Linked DNA regions of Homo sapiens: all the other regions are linked to region 5. The links are contacts of gene promoters, found by promoter capture Hi-C in human tissues and cell types (Jung and others, 2019). All regions are on one chromosome and are shown on one strand. Each heading gives the region's core, a stretch centred on a gene start or on the middle of the fragment in contact. The rest is flanking DNA. Distances are from core to core; before and after follow the strand shown. Region 1 overlaps DCLK2 (doublecortin like kinase 2). Region 2 overlaps LOC105377490 (a long non-coding RNA gene). Region 3 holds the start of LINC02273 (long intergenic non-protein coding RNA 2273). Region 4 overlaps LOC105377492 (a long non-coding RNA gene). Region 5 holds the start of RPS3A (ribosomal protein S3A). Region 6 has its middle 110 kb from the start of DCLK2. Region 7 overlaps FBXW7 (F-box and WD repeat domain containing 7).

What was found. The method cuts DNA at HindIII sites, captures the fragments that hold promoters and counts their contacts. A contact is called where the count stands out against the background at its distance.
Region 1: a fragment that was not itself captured here is called in contact with the fragment with the promoter of RPS3A in region 5 in 1 of the 25 tissues and cell types used here (dorsolateral prefrontal cortex).
Region 2: a fragment that was not itself captured here is called in contact with the fragment with the promoter of RPS3A in region 5 in 1 of the 25 tissues and cell types used here (dorsolateral prefrontal cortex).
Region 3: a fragment that was not itself captured here is called in contact with the fragment with the promoter of RPS3A in region 5 in 1 of the 25 tissues and cell types used here (dorsolateral prefrontal cortex).
Region 4: a fragment that was not itself captured here is called in contact with the fragment with the promoter of RPS3A in region 5 in 1 of the 25 tissues and cell types used here (mesenchymal stem cells).
Region 6: a contact is called between a fragment that was not itself captured here and the fragment with the promoter of RPS3A in region 5, in 1 of the 25 tissues and cell types used here (lymphoblastoid cells).
Region 7: a fragment that was not itself captured here is called in contact with the fragment with the promoter of RPS3A in region 5 in 1 of the 25 tissues and cell types used here (spleen).

Annotation. Positions count from the first base shown.
Region 1 is chr4:150,096,078-150,098,834 of GRCh38, reverse strand. The region is part of intron 1 of DCLK2 (doublecortin like kinase 2); the gene reads right to left. Among named protein-coding and RNA genes, the nearest start is that of DCLK2, 19 kb to the right of the region's middle. The HindIII fragment of the contact is 4,883 bases long and covers 1-2,757 here.
Region 2 is chr4:152,220,890-152,223,589 of GRCh38, reverse strand. All of the region lies in intron 2 of LOC105377490 (a long non-coding RNA gene), which reads left to right. Among named protein-coding and RNA genes, the nearest start is that of FBXW7-AS1, 120 kb to the left of the region's middle. The HindIII fragment of the contact is 3,696 bases long and covers 1-2,700 here.
Region 3 is chr4:152,099,666-152,102,491 of GRCh38, reverse strand. LINC02273 (long intergenic non-protein coding RNA 2273) reads right to left here and starts at 1,739. Exons shown (of 3, transcript NR_121628.1): 1 at 1,675-1,739; 2 at 912-1,008. RefSeq lists enhancers at 1-786, 1,081-1,581, 1,681-1,975, 1,582-2,082. The HindIII fragment of the contact is 4,185 bases long and covers 1-2,826 here.
Region 4 is chr4:152,280,850-152,283,711 of GRCh38, reverse strand. It overlaps LOC105377492 (a long non-coding RNA gene), which reads left to right. Exons shown (of 4, transcript XR_939354.3): 4 at 1-145. Among named protein-coding and RNA genes, the nearest start is that of FBXW7-AS1, 55 kb to the left of the region's middle. The HindIII fragment of the contact is 3,498 bases long and covers 1-2,862 here.
Region 5 is chr4:151,098,190-151,100,889 of GRCh38, reverse strand. It overlaps RPS3A (ribosomal protein S3A), which reads right to left and starts at 1,262. Exons shown (of 6, transcript NM_001006.5): 1 at 1,176-1,262; 2 at 302-405. The coding sequence starts at 1,237. RefSeq lists enhancers at 339-922, 943-1,502, 923-1,507, 806-2,005, 2,283-2,352. The HindIII fragment of the contact is 5,511 bases long and covers 1-2,700 here.
Region 6 is chr4:149,971,820-149,974,519 of GRCh38, reverse strand. No RefSeq gene overlaps it. Among named protein-coding and RNA genes, the nearest start is that of DCLK2, 110 kb to the left of the region's middle. The HindIII fragment of the contact is 6,557 bases long and covers 1-2,700 here.
Region 7 is chr4:152,436,877-152,439,576 of GRCh38, reverse strand. All of the region lies in intron 2 of FBXW7 (F-box and WD repeat domain containing 7), which reads left to right. Among named protein-coding and RNA genes, the nearest start is that of MIR3140, 51 kb to the left of the region's middle. The HindIII fragment of the contact is 3,770 bases long and covers 1-2,700 here.

The DNA of each region.
Region 1 (2,757 bases), core at 160-2,659, 1.0 Mb after region 5:
AATCCCAGCTACTCAGTAGGCTGAGGCAGGAAAATCACCTGAACCCAGGAGGCAGAGATTGCAGTTAGCCAAGACCGTGCCACTGCACTCCAGCCTGGGTGACAAGAATGAGACTCTGCCAAAAAAAAAAAAAAAAGAAAAAGAAAAAACCCCACAGTATGAGAGACTTTGTTAAACTCTTGCCAACGTATGTTAAAACTGCCCTCACCAAAACAAAGTGACAGGTGCACTAAAATCTCAGACTTCACCACTAGACAATTCACCCATGTAACCATAAACCACTCGTACCCCAAAAGCTATTGAAATAAAAAATTAACAAAATAAAAATTAGAGTTCAACTAGGACCACGCATATGTATTTTTTTCATAAGTAGATAAAGCAGTCCCAGAACTGGGCTGACTCATAGCTAGACTTCAATGTTATTACAAGCTGGTCTGTCACTCAGAGTCAAGCCATTTTGTTCTTCTGTTAGACATAATCTCACAGACTATATCATACGAAGTCACTCTAAGACTTTATGATAAAGTGACACAAAAACAAGGTCACTGTGCAATCCACAATACCAAACATCCCCCTCTTGCACTAAGTGAGTGACTGCCATTTCTTTACCACCGTAGTTTTTTCCTCAATCTAGTCTGCCCTCCCTATAACTAAGATTTATAGAGGTATCCAATCATAGGATTGTCCTGCCTTCTGACAGCACCCAAGACAGAGTGAGCCCCCGTTTCCTTAGATCCTTCCTAATATTAATCAGCCAGAGCCCAAATGCTATGATAGGTTCTAACACCCTCTTACTAAGACACCACATGGTATCTTATAAGGTGTGTTCTTCTTCATTGGAACAAGTAATAAACCCAACTTGTTCAACTACATGTGTGTGCCCAGTGGTCTTTGGCTAAAGGGAATTTAGATACATATATCCATATTCATTCTCCTTTCCCTGCCTTCTCTCTCTTTCAAGTTCTTTGGCCATAAAACTGTAAAAAATTTAGGGGAAATCATTTTGCAAATCCCGATCATATGAGTACTATATACAAAGAGGGTTTTGGTTTCTGTATAGAAAGAGGAAAAACAGAAGCATAAGGTGGTTATAAAACTTAACTGTTTTCAGGCATGGTAATGGAACAGAAAGCATTCCTTCAATATCCTATAAGACTCTTTCCAGAGGCACAGCTATGGCTTTTTACCTTTGATGTCCATTCAAAGACACTTTGCATTACTGCATATATAGCAGGTTGACTCAGTGTTTACAATTATGTAATACAACTTGGTTGGGTATATGTTTAGAAGGCCGTTAACTTTCATCCTTACTCAACCAAATGAACTGCCTCTTATTCAAGAAGAAAGAGGTCATTAAAAGCTAGGTAATTCCAGCCAGGCACGGTAGCTCATGCCTGTAATCCCAGCATTTTGGGAGGCCAAGGTGGGCAGATCATTTCAGGCCAGGAGTTCCAGGCCAGCCTCACCAACATGGTAAAACCCTGTCTCTACTAAAAAATACAAAAATTAGCCACAAGTGGTGGTGCATGCCTGTAATCCCAGCTACCCGGAGGCTGAAACACTAGAATCGCTTGAACCCAGAAGGCGGAGGTTGCAGTACCACAGCACTCCAGCCTGGGTGACAGAGTGGGCGGGACTCTGTCTCAAAAAAAAAAAAAAAAAGGCTAGAAATTTCCAATTTCTCACTCTCTGCAAACCTTCATTCTTACACATTTATTTCCATCTGTGCCCATTTTTCGCACGTCCTTTTCCTTTCAGTGACAGAGTGCTCTCCTCCTATTCAAAGTTAAATCCCTCTAACAGGACGTGGGTCCTTCTCTCCTCCCATGCTGAGGTTTCAGAGCCATTCTTTCTCTCCTCTCCAGCCCTCTTTATAGGATTATACACAAGTGTGTCCCACCTTAAACACATGAACCGCCCAGCCCCACCCCATTCACTCTACTCTACCTAATGTGCTTTTGGCTTCCATTCACTGCCAGTCCTCATCTGTTTTTCCACTTCATCGCCCACTCTTTGCTTTTAAGCCACTGGAGCATCACTTGTGCTCCCTGGGCTCTGCTAGCTGAAATGTGGCTCGCCCCAGTTCCCAAGTACTTCTTACCTAACTGCCAAATGCAAAGCACATTTTCTGTCTAATTTCACTCAGTGTCTTCAGTGTCTTCTGAGGGCACTGGACACCAGTCCTAATCCTCTTCATGCAAATCCTTTTTTCCCTAGCATCTATGATCTCCCTTACCTTTACCTCACATTTCTTAGGTTGCTCCTTCTCAGTCTGCTTTTCAGGATCCTCTTTCCACACCCACCCAGGCATCCCTCATCCTCCTTAGACTTTCTCTGGGCAGCTGCATCTTTATCCATGGCTTCAACCACCATCTACACTCTGAGGAATCAAACATCGATGACATTTCTGGCCTAGATCTTTCTCGAGTTCAACCCACTAACAGAATATCCCTCTCTAGATATCTATGAATATCTCACATGCTACATATCTAAAACGAATTTCACTCTCCATTACTGCCACCCTGATCTCACACTCTCCTCTTCCTAAAGTCCCCAAAGTATTGAACGGAATAACCACTGTTCAGTCATCTAAGCAAAAACCAAGCTTCCTTCTTCACTGCCCTTCCCCCACATTCAACAAAATTGGCAGAACGGTTGACTTTGGTCTAAACCCCTCTGGAAACCAACTCCTTCTACCCTGCCTTCTCTCGTTTCTTCCCGGATTAGAGTAGTAAAGAGCCCCATGTCTGGGCCTCA
Region 2 (2,700 bases), core at 161-2,660, 1.1 Mb before region 5:
GTTTCTTGGTAAACGTTCCTATTTGGGTGTTAGGCTACTGTCTCTCCTGATTTCTCAGAAGGCCAGATCTTAAAGGTAAACAGCTTAGGTTTCAGTTTGGTGATATGGGCCTTAGCATGAGTGACTTCACTTTAGATTGGTTTGTCAGGGTTTAGTGCAGGAGCTCAGTCTAAATCAATGGTCTTCCATAAATTTTATCTCACTGAGAGTGTTTGTGACGTATGTGTTATGTATGAGCACACTCCAAAGCCAAACACAGGTTGGGTCATTCATTCAATAAATGTTTACTAAGCTTCTATTTTGTGCCAGGCACTGCTCTGAAACTTACAGACCAGCAGTGAACAAAACAGATAATTTCTGACTCCATGGAGCTTACATCCTAGTTGGAGAGACAGAAAAAATACTAAATAATTCTTTAAACATTAAGGTAATCCTTCTACTAAGGCAAATAAAGCTGGGAGACAGGTCCAGAGTACGTGGTGGGAGGAATACAATATTAAACAGAGTGGTCAGGAAAGGCCTCACTGACTGCAAAATTGCTTGGGGATAGGCTGCTGTTTTGAAATCTTTCTACCTCTGCTTCTTCTTTGCCTAGTGTACAAATGATGAGGATAAAGTCAGTAGCCCAAAGCCTTGCCGTCAGCAATCTGTATCTCCAATATAAGATAACAATTCCTCTTAAATACCCAAATCACAAAAGTCCAGGCCCCACCTGTCAAATCAGCAGGAAGTTTAGACTTCTCTTGGGTTTTTCTCCCAAAAGATTCCTGAGAATCATGGAATGAGTTAGACTTGTCCATTAATCAGTCCCCTTTTTTGCTACCATCCAGAGAACCAGTTCAAGTCTCTGGAGGCTGGATGTCCGGCCTTCACCCTGGCACAGTGGGCTGTGGGCTCTGCGGTCCAGTTGCTAGTCAGGAGACGTCCTGGTGGCCCCTGATTCGTGTTCACGTTCACATCACTGTTCCTGCGGTTCTCTACACATTCACCTTGGTATTAGCTCTCTTTGCCCCTGGTCCAGCATACCTCTTCAGCTTCCAAGTATGGGTCACCTTCCTTATGTAAATTTCCTCTTGGGACTGTATTTTCTTTTAAATAAAAATTGGCCTTGTCCGAGAACTTACTTCATCAGATATAGTCATGTATCTTTGAATGTCTCCTCCTAACTCTGTAAATTTGTGAATGACGTGGGGGGCACAGCCCAGCTCTGTCTGGTGGCACTGGGGATCCAAACGCAGATGAAGCAGCTCAGGAAGTGGCGATACCTTGCTGCTCCGCCAGCGGGGCCAACACAAAGTGCTGTCAGCTACACGGACACCAGTTTGTTTGTGTTGTGACTCTGAAAGGAAGCCATGGCATTGCTTTCCACAAATTATTACTAAAAAACTGTTCTGTTAATATTTGAAATATTTAAACACAAAAGTACCTACCATTCAGATTTAACAAATTGTTAGCATTTTACCATTTTGCTTAAGACCTTATATTTTTAAAGCAACAGAAACTTGGTATCCTGTGCACTTTGATTCTATGCAGTTAGTGAGCTTGGATAGTGACGGTTCAGACAGGAAGCTTAGAGAGCAATGCACACCATTTTATCAGAATCTGCGTAGGTCTTCAGTTTCAGGTCGTAAGATTTCAGAGAGTGAGGAGATACCATTTCCTCCAAACAATTCTCTTTCAAAAAAAATCACTGGCCTCTATTCAGTTCCTAAGTAGAGAAAAGAGTTCAAATAGTAATAATTATAGGTGTTATAGATATAGTTGGGGCCTTTTGTGTGTTCCTCTCAATTTCATTCTCTGCTCCCTCTCCCGTGGCTGCCATTGTCCTGAAGCTGGTAGGTATCATTTCCGTCCATGTTTCCCACTTTACTATATGTGGATATTTTAATAAACAATACATAGTCTTTTGGTAGGGGTTTAAATATTACTTTAACAGTATTATACTATATGCATCATTCTGCAGTATGTTACTTTGTACTTTAGGTTTGCCTGCTGTTGCATGGATACAGTTTTCTTTTTTAAATTCCTATTTCTTCTTGTAGAATTAAATCTTTTATTTGTTTTAATTTAATTTTATTTTTTTGAGACAGAGTCTCGCTCTGTCGCCAGACTGGAGTGCAGTGGCATGATCTTGGCTCACTGCAACCTCCACCTCCCGGTTTCAAGTGATTCTTCTGCCTCAGCCTCCCGTGTAGCTGGGACTACAGGCGTGTACCGCCACACCCAGCTAATTTTTATATTTTTAGTAGTAACAGCGTTTCACCATGTTGACCAGGATGGTCTCGATCTCTTGACCTTGTGATCCACCCGCCTCGGCCTCCCAAAGTGCTGGGATTACAGGCATGAGCCACCGTGCCCAGCCAGAATTAAATCTTTTATTGAGGGAACATAAAGGTAGCTCTCTGAGTTTTTGCATCTCTTAAAATGTCTCTATTATGCTTTCACTCAAATGATGAAGTAGATGAGTACAGAATTGTAGATTGACAGTTTGTTTCTTTCAACACTGAAAATATTGCTTTCCTGCCATCATGCATTTCTTGATGTTGATGAGAAGCCTGCTGCCATTTCAATTGTCATTACTCTGTAAGTGACCTGCCTTTTTTGTCTGTTAGCTTTTAAGCTTTGCAGCTTCACAACAATGTGACTAGGTGTGAATTTATTTTTAATGATTTTGCTTGACATATAAAGTGTGCATTTTCA
Region 3 (2,826 bases), core at 124-2,623, 1.0 Mb before region 5:
GGAGCAGGCTCCTTACCAATTAGCTCAGGATTTTAGTATGTTGATAACTTAACATGTTTGAGCTATTCGGTTCAACCCCTTTGTCTAATTCTAACTCACTGGGAAATCCCTGGATTGGAATGCAGTTTCCCATATGCTTTGATCTACAGGGAACGAACAGGCATGACTGGCTTACATAATTGTGAGATGACTATATTTTTCAAGGTAAACAGTTTCTGCTTTATCAGTCTCTTAGGAGCCTGGTTACATTGATCAATGTGAATTCACCCCTATGAGAGAAATCCACTCTTAGCTTGCTGACAAAGTCAATTGCCTCAATTACAAAAAAAAAAAAAAAAAAAAGATTCCCGAACTTGCCCCATAGAAGCAAGACAGCCAAGCTTAGAAGCAGCCAGCCCAGCCCTTTTTCAAACTTAGAATCAGTGATCCAAGGGTCCTTTCAGTATTTTTCCACAGGATCTCTGGCTGAATTTCCACAGCATGTGAAAATTCAACTATACACAAGACAGCATGATGCAGCGATTTTCTTTTTTTCTTCTCTCTCTCTCTCTTTTTTTTTTTTTTGCACATTTTATTTTAGTAGCACAACTCTTATTTTCAAATGATCTTACGAAGGACCTCAAGCTGCAGATATTCATGTCTTCACATCAGGCGTCTCTACTTGGGTGTCTGACAGGCACTTAAAATATAAGATGTCCAAAGAGCATTCTGGATGCCCTGCCCCCGCTGCACATGCTCCTCCCTAATGTGCCCTCATCTCTCAGGCCTAACACCTAAAATCATTCTATTCTCAGGTCATCTCTTAGCCTCAAACTCCTGCTTCCAGCTACAAAACATATGTAGAATCCCATCCCTTCCAAGCTAGGGCCCACATAGCTGAAACCTTGTTTTCAGCCAGTATCCCCTCTTACCTGGATGACTGCAACGAACTTATAATAGGTCTTCCCACTTTTATTACTGCTTCCTATACTTCCCTGGATCGGAATGCAGTTTCCCATATGCTTCTACCTACAGGGAAAGAACAGGTATGGCTGGCTTACATAATTGTCAGATGGAGCAACATTTGCTTCACTTAAAATTGTTTTTAGAAGTCTAGACTTTAGAATCTCTACTTGTTAATGACAATATAACAATGACCAATTACTACCATTTTAAACGTATTATTTCTCTATTTAGTGAAATAATACGTTTAAAATGTAGATCAGATGGTGACTTTCACCCTGTTCAAAGTGCTCCAACATCTCCCATCACTCTTAAACTGCAAACTCCTTACCGTGGTCTACCAGGCTCTCTGCCATCTGGTTTCCTGGTAGCCCATTGGCTGAACTGCCAGCTGCTGTCTCCTTGACTCCTGTGGCTCCAGACACACTGGACTTATTGTTGGTTCTCAAATGTGCCAAGCTTGTTCTCTGCTTTGCATTTGCTGTTTCCTCTGCTTAGAACCTCTGGTGCCCTTGACTTTGAATGGCTCACTTCCTCACACCAATCAAGTCTTTGCCTAAAGTCTCTGCCTTTGCTCAGAGAGGCCTTCCCTTGCCACCTCTTTAAAATAGCCTGCCTCACTCCTACTCTCGAGCTCCTCAGTCAGCCCCCACCCAGCACACACCACATTTCATAGTGGATGTTGTTGTGTGCCACTCAGATCCCCTGGCAGAACCGAAAAACGCTTGTCACCTTAGCTGCTGGGAGTGCAGGCTCCACCAACTCACACCTGAGACACTTTCCAAGCATTGCAAAGTGTCAGAGGTGTGTCATTTCCTCTGTCAGAGGAAGCTGCTCCACCCACATGTACACCCACTTCCTGGAGGCAGCTTGCATCCAAAGGCTGGTCACATGGGAGTGCAAATGCCCAGTCCTCCAATCTTAATTAGGACAACACTGCTTGTTGTCCCAAGCTGCAAAGCTCCTCAGGAGGAAGACAGAAAGCAACTTTTCCATCTGTCCGACCTGCGTCCCTCACCCTTCACACTTGTTGCTCCTGAGATCACGCCCCAAAAACCTCCTGCAAATCTCTTTGTCAGAGTCTACTTCCTGCAGAACCTGACCTGTGGGCCTCTACCCCAAATTGTGGGTTTTTAACTTACTTGTTTATTTCCTGTCTCTCCAACAAAGACGTAAGTTCTGTAACAGCAAGGAAAGGTCTATCTTACTCCCCTCTCTATCCTGGCCCAGACGCCTAGACAGTGCCTGGAATACGTGGAAGTTCAATAAATATTGAATGAATAAATGAATGCACCCCCCAATCTATATAATAGATAATAGGGAAACTGTCTTCCTGAAATTGTTTGTGTGTCAGGGGCACTCCTCCCTCTGTCACTCCTCTACCCACCGCTGGAGAAGTACCCAGGGCACCTCAGCAGCACCTTCAGGCAGAGTCAATTTTAGAATCAGGAAAGCAAGATTCATAGCCAGGTTCCATCACTAGCAAGCCCTTCCCAGTATCTCCTGGAGTCAGTATTGGGCCTTGCAGGCTCTTTAGCTTGTTCGACTGCGACAATGAGCGCCACACTCCGCTCCTGGAAAATAAGCTGGGAGAATGGAAAAGCTAATTGAATTGGTTCATCTCTCTGAAGCCAGTGATAAATCTTAGGGGTCTGAAGAAGGCCCTAGGGGATCTAATGCCCCCAGTGAGATCTGGGGTGGGGAAATTGACCTCAGACTCTGAACCTCGAATCAAGAGTGGTTCATTTTTACTACAGAGCCTGGAAGGGAGACTGCTTGGGACCTGCCCTTGGGTGACTCCTGCTGGCCCCTGGGGAGCCAAGTTTTATTCCAGTAGAATGTCCAGGAAGCTGTGCACCCTGGTGACAACTCACTTTCGCCTAT
Region 4 (2,862 bases), core at 292-2,791, 1.2 Mb before region 5:
AAAAGTAAAGAACAGAAATAACCAAAATGTCCAAATTAAATTGTTATACATCCATATGCTAGAATATGATGAGCTATTAAAAATGAGGCTGTCATAAAAATGAATGAGATCATGTCCTTTGCAGGCACATGGATGGACCTGGAAGCCATTATCTTCAGCAAACTAATGCAGGAACAGAAAACCAAACACGGCATCTTCTCACTTACAAGTGGGAGCTGAACAATGAGAATACATGGACACAGGGAGAGGAAAAACACACACTGGGGCCTGCAGGTGCAGGGGGAGGGAGAGCATCCGGAAAATTAGCTAATGCATGCTGGCTTAATACCTAAGTGATGGGTTAATAGGTACAGCAAACCACCATAGCACACGTCTACCTATGTAACAAACTTGCATATCCTACACATGTGTCATGGAACTTAAAATTAAATTAAAAAATAAGAGATGGAAAAAAATGAGGCTGTCAAAGAACATTTCATGATGTGGGAAAATATTGTATATTCTGTTAAGTGAAGCATGCAGATTACAGAAGAGAGGATTTGGTAAAATCCAAATTTGATGTATGCAATTTTATGCAAATATATGCATAGGAAAAACTAGTAGTGTGTTACTCTAAAATGTTAATAATGGTTATTTCTGGATGGTAGGATTACAGGTGGCTTTTGTTTTTCTTTTGTGCCTTTCCGTATCTTCAAAAAACACTTCTTATGATGATTGTATATCTATTCTAGTAATAAGAAAAAAAGTCGATAAATGTGATTGAGAGAGAACGGAGGCCTCTGTGTCTGACCCGCCAGAGGGAAGGGCTTTGCGGAGGGCTGCACTTGGGCCTTCTGTGGCCAGGCCCGCTCTTTGCCCTGAGCACCAGCAGCTATGTCTGGGGGGTCAGCCAGGATGACTACATTCAAGTCTGAGGTGACCTGGGCTCTCAGAGGACTTGTGTGCTCCTGGAAGAAGCATTTCACACTCCCTGAGCTTGGCGCCGCCCACCCCACTATTAATAGTGTTTCAGTGTCTCCAATGGGTCTGCACATTCTGGTCCTAGAGGTGACCTCAGATGCTGCCCAAATAGCCCGCTGGTTTTCTAATGGAGGCTTGAGGGGGAGGTCATTATTGGGCTTGTGGATGTTCTAGATAAGCTTTTCTGACCAAATGAACTCCCATCATCACCTTGCCTTTCCTCCCACAACTCCCATCTCATCTTCCATCCCCAGGAACATCACAAGAAAGGGAATTAGAGAAGTTGTACCCCAAGGGGCACAATGCTGATCGTTGTGTAGGAGATGACTGTGTCAATGAAGAGAGTCCACCTCAGAGAAGGACATTTCCCCTTCTGCAGTATTTCTCCAAGTTCAGCCTTTCAACTATTTGCCCCAGACTTCCCGGCATGAAAATGCAGATCCCTGGGCCCCGCCCTAGGCCTAACAAAAGCGAAATCTCTGGGAGTGGACTCTAAAACTGGAGAGCCACTTCCCCACGAACTGGGAAAGGCAAAGAAAGACTGTCCATGTGTTTGGACTATGCAGCATGCAGAGGGTCACCTCTGAACTGAACCGCTCCACTTTAGTGCCCTCGAATCTAAACCAAACTCTGCCATTTGTTGAGTGTCTCCTGTGTGCTAGACACACCCCAATTGCTTTATAGTCTTTATCACAAATCAGCCTCATGATCATCACCCTCCCAGGAAGTTTTTAGCTACTTCAGGAAACTGAGAGTAAGACGTTTCCTTAGAACTCACGTAAGAGTCCTTTCAGATAAACTTGGTGACTGTCAATTATCTCCTGTTCCCTTTCTCCTCTGGCTTTCTCTCTTCTCTCCCTCCCACACCTAAATTTAATTGACTTCCCTTGACCCCGACAGATAAAAGGGGTCTCTGAGGAGAGACTCCCGAGGTGCCCCACGCTGCTGGCCCTGCAGGTCCTGTCTCCTAGGTGCCTTCGCTAAGTGTTTCTCTCAGAGCTCTCACAAGTCAGAGGTCCCATAGTGCATGGCACAGCATGGATTCAGCACAGGGTGGGCTTGCCCTCTACCTGGGCCCTGCGGGAGGGGAGCCCCCAGGCTGCCAAGGCTCTATCTTGCTGCCCGCTTTCAGAACTTACTGCCTCTTACCACCACAACTAACTAGGCTGCCTATGTCAGAGATGGCTGGTGCCCCCTCCCCAGTTGACTGCCTAGCAAAGATGATATATTCTGAGCTCCCTTGAAGCTAGGCTTAGTCCTGTGGGTAAATTCTGGCCACAGGAATGGAAATGATGCATGCGATTTCAGGGCCATGCCTTTCTTCTATTCTGCTCCTGTGGAGTGGATGTGGTGGTGAGCCCTGTGGACCATGGGGGCAAAGTCCTCATCCTAAGAATGACAGAACAACAAGATGGAAGGAGCCTAGAGCCCTGGCGACTTTGCAGAGGAGGGCTGCAGGCAGTGTAGACTTTGGCAGGAGAGAAACAAACATGGATCTGGTTGAAGCCAACTGTGGATTTGGGGTCTCCTTGTTGGAATAAATCACACTGATACCTGAACAAGTGCACTGAGCCTATTAAAACTCTCTCCCAGGAACCTGGAATTACTACTCTGGAGCTCACTGTGGGGGACCAAAAGTTGTTACCACAGTCAGAGACCTGGCCAGCCCAGATAGAAACCTGAGGAAGCAGGGGAAGCTCTTGGTGGAAAGATGAGTGTGAAGTGTGTGGTGAGAAAGATGCAGAGAAGGGACAGCAGGCAGAGGGTGGCTGTCACCATTTTCAATGCCATTCCGGCCCCAGCATGGTTCCTGTAGGGCCTAGATGTGTATCTTGCTGTTGCATGTCATAAATTGCCCTCTGTTCTTTATATTTGAGTTACTGTGACTGAGTTTTTCTTTCT
Region 5 (2,700 bases), core at 13-2,512:
AATGGTAAATTATAAAGACCTTAACCTTTGTTATCAAATCTATCCAGACACCAGTGACTTATCAACAGTACTTATTTGAAGCTCAGAACTACCCATGGCACATTTTCTTAATTCAAAAAGCACCATCTTGCTTCTCTCCAAGTGCTGTACTAAAAATGATCACCACAGGTGCCAAGGCTGCAACCAAGAGCTGACATTTCCTTAAAGTCTCCCACCACAGGACCAACAACAGACCAAGATGCCTGCTACAATATACAAGCGCCAACTTAAGGAAAATACAAACCAAGAATAAGCTACTTACTGGTTCCTTGGGTCCTGGTGACGAGCGTCTTTCCAATATTTCTTATATTGAACATAGCAGGTGCTTTCACATCATACCAATCTTTCTTAGAAAATGGATCAACCCTGGATTTTAAGAAGATGCTTAAGTTCCATTGCAGATCAATTCTTACTGTATTTTTCACTGTTAATGGTATTTCCCATTAATATTTTAAAAAGCTAACCGGCAATTTGATACCAAAGTATATCTCACAGTGAGGTGAGGGGAACAAACATAAATCTAGCTCTTCCCACTGTACGTTTCACTGCATGCATCAGACTTTGAAAGGTTATGTCCACTTCCCACCCTCATCGGTCCATCCACTACACAGGCACTTAGAATAACATGCATCGGTCCTTCCACTACACAGGCACGAGTAACATGCAATCTCATTAACTTTGCTGGCACGTAATGGCATGTACTGGTAACTAAGAGACTGCATGGCCCCAAAGCTTAGCAGGAGCTCGCAGATTCCAGCGGGACCAAGCAAAGGCGAGATTGACGGGTCCTGAATGGATAGAAGGGTGCTTTCCTCAACTCCTGCTGTCGCAGTGCCATCAAACACTCGCAGAATTGAGGCAGCTCGTGAGCCCACAAAACTAACATTCCAGCCGAGTCGCGCCGGCAAGCCGGCTCAAACGCGACGCGCGCAAGGACCAGAAGGCCTGGGAAAGGCAGCCGACCTGCCGCTACTCAACACCGACCCTCCAGGCCGCGTTCCTGGGTGCACCAACCCGCCACGGCCCGCACAATCCGACTGGAATCCTCGCCATCCGGCCTACGCCGCGATCTAGGACCAGCCCGCCGATTCCAGCAGACCCCCAAAAAGCAAGACGCCACGACAGTCGCGACTTACACTTTCTTCTTGGCTCCCTTTTTGCCGCCTTTCGTAAGGCGCTTGTTCTTGCCAACCGCCATGGTGCTGGTCAGAGAGCCAAAAGGGCGGAAGTGGGAGTCGCGCGAGAACTTAGGCGTACGGGGGCGGGGCGCGCCGTCTACGTGACCTTTGCCCTGTTATTCTTCCGGCCTCAAGAATTCCGGGACAGTAGAGAGCGCCACTCTTTCTACTGTGGTTGCGACATCGCCATCGTGTGTGGGGAGGCCGCGCGGCATGCCGCGGGCTCACTGGAGGCTGCGCTGTGTAGACCAAGGCGTCGGTGGCCTGACGTGCAGGCGTCTGGTTACCTGTGGTTTCTGTGGCTGTGACGTCGGGAAGTAAGTTTCTGTAAAACGAGACGCCCACTCAACATCGTTCAAAGCTGAACTCACCGTCTAACCCCCAAACCTGCTTTTTGAGAGCATTGGCTTTGGAGTCAGTCAGCGGATCTGATTCAAATGCCGGTTTCAACAGGGCTTTGCTTGAGACCGACCTCTCCACGCTTGTTTCCTCATGCGTAATATGGGGGTGATAAAACGGTCGGCTTCATGAGGTTTCATAGGGCTAAATGAGCATCACTCCAGAGATGCTAGCGACGTTCTGCTTGTTGATGTGGATGCTGGTTCATCTCAGGTGTTGTTGCTTTGTGAACATTCACTAAGCTCTACGCTTATTTGTGTCCTTTTCTATATGTCTGTTATATATTGATTAAAAGGTTTTTTTAAAATAGAGTGAGACCGAACTCGTTGGCTCACACCTGTAATCCCAGCACTTTAAGAGGCTGAGGCAGGGGAATCAACTGAAGCCAGGAATTGGAGACTAGCCTGGGCCACACAGCCAGACCCCGTCTTTACAAGAAAATGATAAAATTAGCAGGGCGTTGGCCGGGCGCGGTGGCTCACGCCTGTAATCCCAGCACTTTGGGAGGCTGAGGCGGGCGGATCGCCTGAGCTCAGGAGTTCGAGACCAGCCTGGCCAACATAGTGAAACCCCGTCTCTACTAAACATACAAAAAATTAGCCGGGTGGGTGCCTGTAATCCCAGCTACTCGGGAGGCTGAGGCACGAGAATCTGAGCTCAGGAGGCGGAAGTTGCAGTGAGCCGAGATCGCGCCATTGCCTGGCCAACAAGAGTGAAACTGCGTCAAAAAAAAAAAAGTGAGATCTCCAAATGTTTCCATTTTTGCAACTAATCCAAACCCGCCTCCCCCATTTTTTTTAACTGTAGGGGTTAACAGAGCACATCCTGGCAAGGTGTGGCTGGCTAGCTCAAGTGTGCAGCCCTCGGAAAGCATCTGGCCCATACAGGCTTGGTACTCAGCCAGTGGTGTGTTGAGTTCCCTTCTCTAACTTCCCCTCTGGCAGAAAACCCTGTGACCAAGCCAAAACCAACCCTTACTTACAAGGCCCCCTGCAAGCTTTTAAACTTACAATCCCTTCCAGTCCTGCTAGCCTCCATCCCCTACCTCCCACTACACCCACCCCCCAAGACAACCTTCCTAAAC
Region 6 (2,700 bases), core at 65-2,564, 1.1 Mb after region 5:
TGGTGTCGGGGTAGTTTAGATTTTCCCTTTACTGTTGTATGAGCTTTGGCAGTTTGTATCTTTTAGGGATTTGCCTGTCTCATCTAAGTTGTTGAATTGTTGGCATAAATTGCTTGCAGTATTCCCTAATTATTTGTTTAATATTTATAGAATATTTCTGATACTGAATACTTGTGTTTTCTCTTTTTCTTGACAAGTCTAGCTAGAAATTTATCAATTTTCATTGATTTGTTTCAAAGAACTGTCATCTTTTTGGTTTCATTACTTTTTAAAGTTGCTTTTGGCTCTTCTATTTCAATGATTTCTACTGTTACTTTCATTATTCTGCTTACTTCGAACTTAATTTGTTTCTCTTTTTCTAGTGTCTTAAGATGGAATGAGAGATTTAATTTTAGGCTTTCCTACTACTTTCTTTATTTTCTAATTCTGTATAAGCATCTAAAGCTGTAACTTTCCCTTCAAGTATTACTTTAGTTACATATCACAAATCTTGATATATTGTGTTTTCAGTTTTATTCAGTTAAAAATGTTTTCTAATTTCCCTTGTAATTTCTTCTTTGGTACATTAGTGATTTACAACTATGTTCTTTAATTTTCAAATATTTGGGGATTTTTAAAAATATCATTTTGTTTTTGATTTCAAATTTGATTCCCTCGTATTCAGAAAATTTACTCGGCATAATTTCCTTTGAAATCTATTGAGACTTGTTTTATGGCCTAATGTAGTCTATTTTGTGAGTATTCTATGTGCACTTTAAAGGAGTGTCTATTCTGTGGGTTTTAGATATAGTGGTCTACAAATACCAATTAGGTCAAGCTGGTTGAAAATGTCATTCAAGTCTATATCTTTACCAATCTTCTGTCTACTGTTTTACCAATTGCTGGGTGAAGTGCGTGTTGATGTCTTCAATGATAAGTTGTGGATTTGCCTATTTCTTCTTTTAGGTCTGTCAGTTTTTGCTTCATGTATTTTGAAGCTCTCCAGTGTAATTTTAATTTTTAATATCATAGTGTATGAGGTTTCACATTTAAGAACTATTTATGTTTCCTTTTCTTTGCACTGTTTATTTTTCCCATTTTTTTCTAGTAGTTGATATTTGCATAAGAAAATTCGCCCTTTGACTGTGATGTTTGTTGTACATATTTTACATACTTTGTCATGTTTACGGTGGCTTTTACCAAGCAGCAGTTTTTGATTATTTGTAATAGAATTTATTTTTAGAGCAGATTTAGATTCACAGCAAAATTGAGTGGAAATTACAGAGATTTCTCATATACTCCCTGCCCCTACACATGTACAGCCTCCCTCACTATCAATATCCCACACCAGAGTGATACATTTTTTACAATTGATGTACCTATATTGTCACATCAGTATCACCCAAATTCCATAATTCACATTAGGATTTACTCTTGGCATTGTTATACGTTCTGTAGATTTTGACAAATGTACAATGACATGTATCCAACATTACAATGTCCTTCAGAATAGCTTCACTGCCCTGGAAATCCTCTGTGTTTTGCCTATTCACCCACCCTCCTGCTCTCTCAGCCCCTCACAACAACTGATCTTTTTACTGTCTCCATAATTTTGCCTTTTCCAGAACATCATATAGTTGGAATCACATAGCTGTAGCCCTTCCAGATTGGCTTCTTTCACTTAATAATATTCATACTAAGTTTGCTCTGTGTTTTGTATTGCTTGATAGCAATATAATTCAATGCTTATTTCGTTTTAGCATTGAATAATATTCCAATATTCTGTTGTCTGATGTGCCATAGTCTACTTATTTATTCACTCACTGAAGGACATCTTAATTGCTTCCAAGTTTTTGGCAATAATGAATAAAGCTGCTATAAACATCCGTGCAAATGCTTTTGTCTGGACATAAGTTTTCAATTCATTTGGGTAAATACCAAGGAGCATGGTTGCTGGATCATATTACAAGAATATGTTTGGTTTTGTATGAGACTGTCAGCCTGTCTTCCAAAGTGGCTGTACCATTTTCCATTCCCACTAGCAGTGGCTGAGAATCCATGTTGTTCCACAACCTTTCCAACACTTGGCATTTTCAATGTTTCAGATTTTGGCCATCCTAATAGCTGTATAGTAGTATATCATTGTTTTAACTTGCAATTCTCTAATGACATATAATGTTGAGTATTTTTTCATATTTGCCATCTGTATGTCTTCTTTGGTGAGATGTCTGTGAAGGTTCTTGGTCTATTTTTTAAATCATGTTGTTTATTTTCTTATTTTTGAGTTTTAAGGATTCTCTGTGTATTTTGGATGACAGTCCCTATCAGATATGATCAGGACATATCAGATATGATCAGGACATATCAGATATGTCCTTTGTAAATATTGTCTCCCAGTCTGTGTCTTGTCTTCTCATTCTTTTGACAGTGTTTTTCACAGAGCAGAAGTTTTAAATTTTAATGAAGTCTAGCTTATCAATTTTTTTTTCATAGACTGTGCCTTTTTTTATTGTATCTAAGAATTCATTGCCATATCTAAGATTACCTAGATTTTTTTCCTATGTTATATTCCAGGAGTTTTATAGTTTCGCATTTTGCATTTAGGTCTACAATCCATTTTGAGTGAATTTTTGTGAAAGGTGTAAGGTCTGTGTCTAGATTCACTTTTTAAAATGTGGATGTCTAGTTGTTCCAACACCATTTTTTGAAAGGAATATCTTT
Region 7 (2,700 bases), core at 103-2,602, 1.3 Mb before region 5:
ACCATAGTACAGGCAGTTACTTTTGTTATATAACAGTATAGTTGTCTCTGAAGAAAACCTGAAGCTCTGCAAAATCGGGCCCTGAAAATCGGTTTCTGAGTGGCTTGTTCCTGTGTAAACTTGTAATCTCTGTAGTAACGAAACCAGTACCCATTCTAATAAAAATATTATATAGCTAAATATTTACCCCAGTTAGTTCTAAGTTCTAGGATTTATGCTTTCTCCTTTGAAATGTAGGTCCTCGAGAACATTCATTTCTACTTATGATGAAATTGTGAAAACTAGTAAATCTGATCCAGGGTGTAGTTTTTATCAGTTGCCTCTCACCCCTTAAAAAAAAAAATTAACGTGGGAAAAATATTGTCATGGATTTTCTATCTGTACTCACAGCTTGACCAGATGGTTTTAACATTGTGGAATGCCTAGCAGTTTAAAGCCATTAACTAGCCTCTGGTTACCCTCTTCTGGATTTCTAGTTTTTTTCTTAAGGTCATCATGTATTGCTTAAGCTCTGTCTTTGTGAGAAAGCTTGTCCCTGCTGGCTTTAAAACTTTACTATGCTGGGGAAAATTTTGGACTAAAGTGACATTCACATTATACTGACCTCATCGCCCAAATGATGAATGAATGAACTAATGTACACTACAAGAACATGTCTTAATAGGAAAGTAGACTGTTGTCTGTAGTTGTCCCATTGTTTTATCATTGCTGCTACTATATTGACATGAAGTAGCAGTGGGTGTGCATGTTTGTATATTTTTTCTGTGCTGTTAAATAAGTCCACGCACATCTCCCATGTGGGTAGGGTAGTACTGGGTGATGGAGTAGGTTTACCAGTACCATTTGTCCCTTACTTTACTTGTATAGCTTTATGTTTTAAAATAGAGTGTTTTTGTTTTTTTGAGACAGAGTCTCAGTCTGTCACCCAGGCTCGAGTGCAGTGATGTAATCTCGGCTCACTGCAACTTTTGCCTCTGGGGTTCAAGTGATTCTCGTTCCTCAGCCTCCTGAGTAGCTGAGATTACAGGTGTGTGCCACTCCTGGCTAATTTTTATGTTTTTAGTAGAGACAGTGTTTCACCATGTTGGCCAAGTTGGTCTCGAACTCCTGACCTCAAGTGATCCACCTGGCTTGGCCTCCCAAAGTGCTGAGATTACAGGCATGAGCCACCGTGCCTGGCCACTTTTTGTTAGAATTAATACTTTGAAGATACCATGGATTTGGTTCTAGACCACTACAATTAAGCAAATATCATAATAAAGTTAGTCACAAGAATTTATTGTTTCCCCAGTGCATATAAAGTTATATTTACATGGCATTGTAGCCTATTAAGTATGCAATAGCATTCTGTCTAAAAAGTGTGCATACCTTAACTAAAAAATACTTTACTATTTATTTATTTATTGAGACAGTCTTGCTCTGTTGCCCAGGCTGGAGTGCAGTGGTATGGTATTGGCTCGCTGTAACCTCCGCCTCTCAGGTTCAAGCGATTCTCTTGCCTCTGCCTTCCAAGTAGCTGGGATTACAGGCACCCGCCACCACACCCGGCTAATTTTATATTTTTAGTAGAGACCGGGTTTCACCATGTTGGCCAGGCTGGTCTTGAACTCCTGACCTCAAGTGATCTGCCCACCTCTGCCTCCCAAAGTGCTGAGATTACAAGCGTGAGCCATCGCGCCTGGCTAAAAAATACTTGATTGCTAAAAAATGCTAACAATCACCTGAGCCTTCAGGGAGTCACGATCATTTTACTGCTGTAGTCTTGCCTCAGTGTTGATGGCTGCTGACTGATAGAGTGATGTTGCTGAGGGTTGGAATGGCTGTGTCAGTTTCTTAAAATAACAATGAAGTTTGCTGCATTGATTGACTCTTCCTGTCATGAACGATTTCTCTGTAGCGTGTGATGCTGTTTGATAGCATTTTATGCAGAGTAGAACTTCTTTCAAAACTGGAGGCAATCCTTTCAAATCCTGCCGCTGGTTTATCAATTAAGTGTATGCAGTATTCTAAATTGTTTAACTTTGTCTCAGGAAACTACTTTCCTTGCTCATTCAGAAGAAACAACACCTTATCCATTCAAGTTTTATTATGAGATTGCAACAGTTTAGTCACATTGTCAAACTCCAGTTCTAATTCTAGTTCTCTTGCTATTTCTACGCGCCTGCAGTGACTTCCGCCACTGAATTTTTTTTTTTTTTGAGATGGAGTCTGGCTCTGTCTCCCAGGCTGGAGTGCAGTGGCACGATCTCAGTCAGCTCACTGCAACTTGCGCCTGCCGGGTTCAAGTGATTCTTCTGCCTCAGCCTCCTGAGTAGCCCTCCACTGAAGTCTTGAACCCCTCAAAGTCATCCACGAGGGTTGGAATCAACTTCTTCCAAACTCCTGTTGATGTTGATATTTTGACCTCCTTCTGTGAAACACAGATATTCTTAATGGTATCTGGAGTGCAGTTATCCTTCTCAAAAGGTTTTCAATTTACTTTGCCCAGATCCATCAGAGGATTCACTATGTATATATATAAAACAGCTAATGTATTTCTAAAACAAGACTGGAAAGTAGAAATGACCCTTGATTAATGGGCTGCAGAATGGGTATTGTATTATTAGGCATGAAAACAACATGAATCTCCATGTACATCTCCATCAGAGCTCTTGGGTGACCAGGTTCGTTGTCATTGAGCAATGAGTAATATTTGAAAGG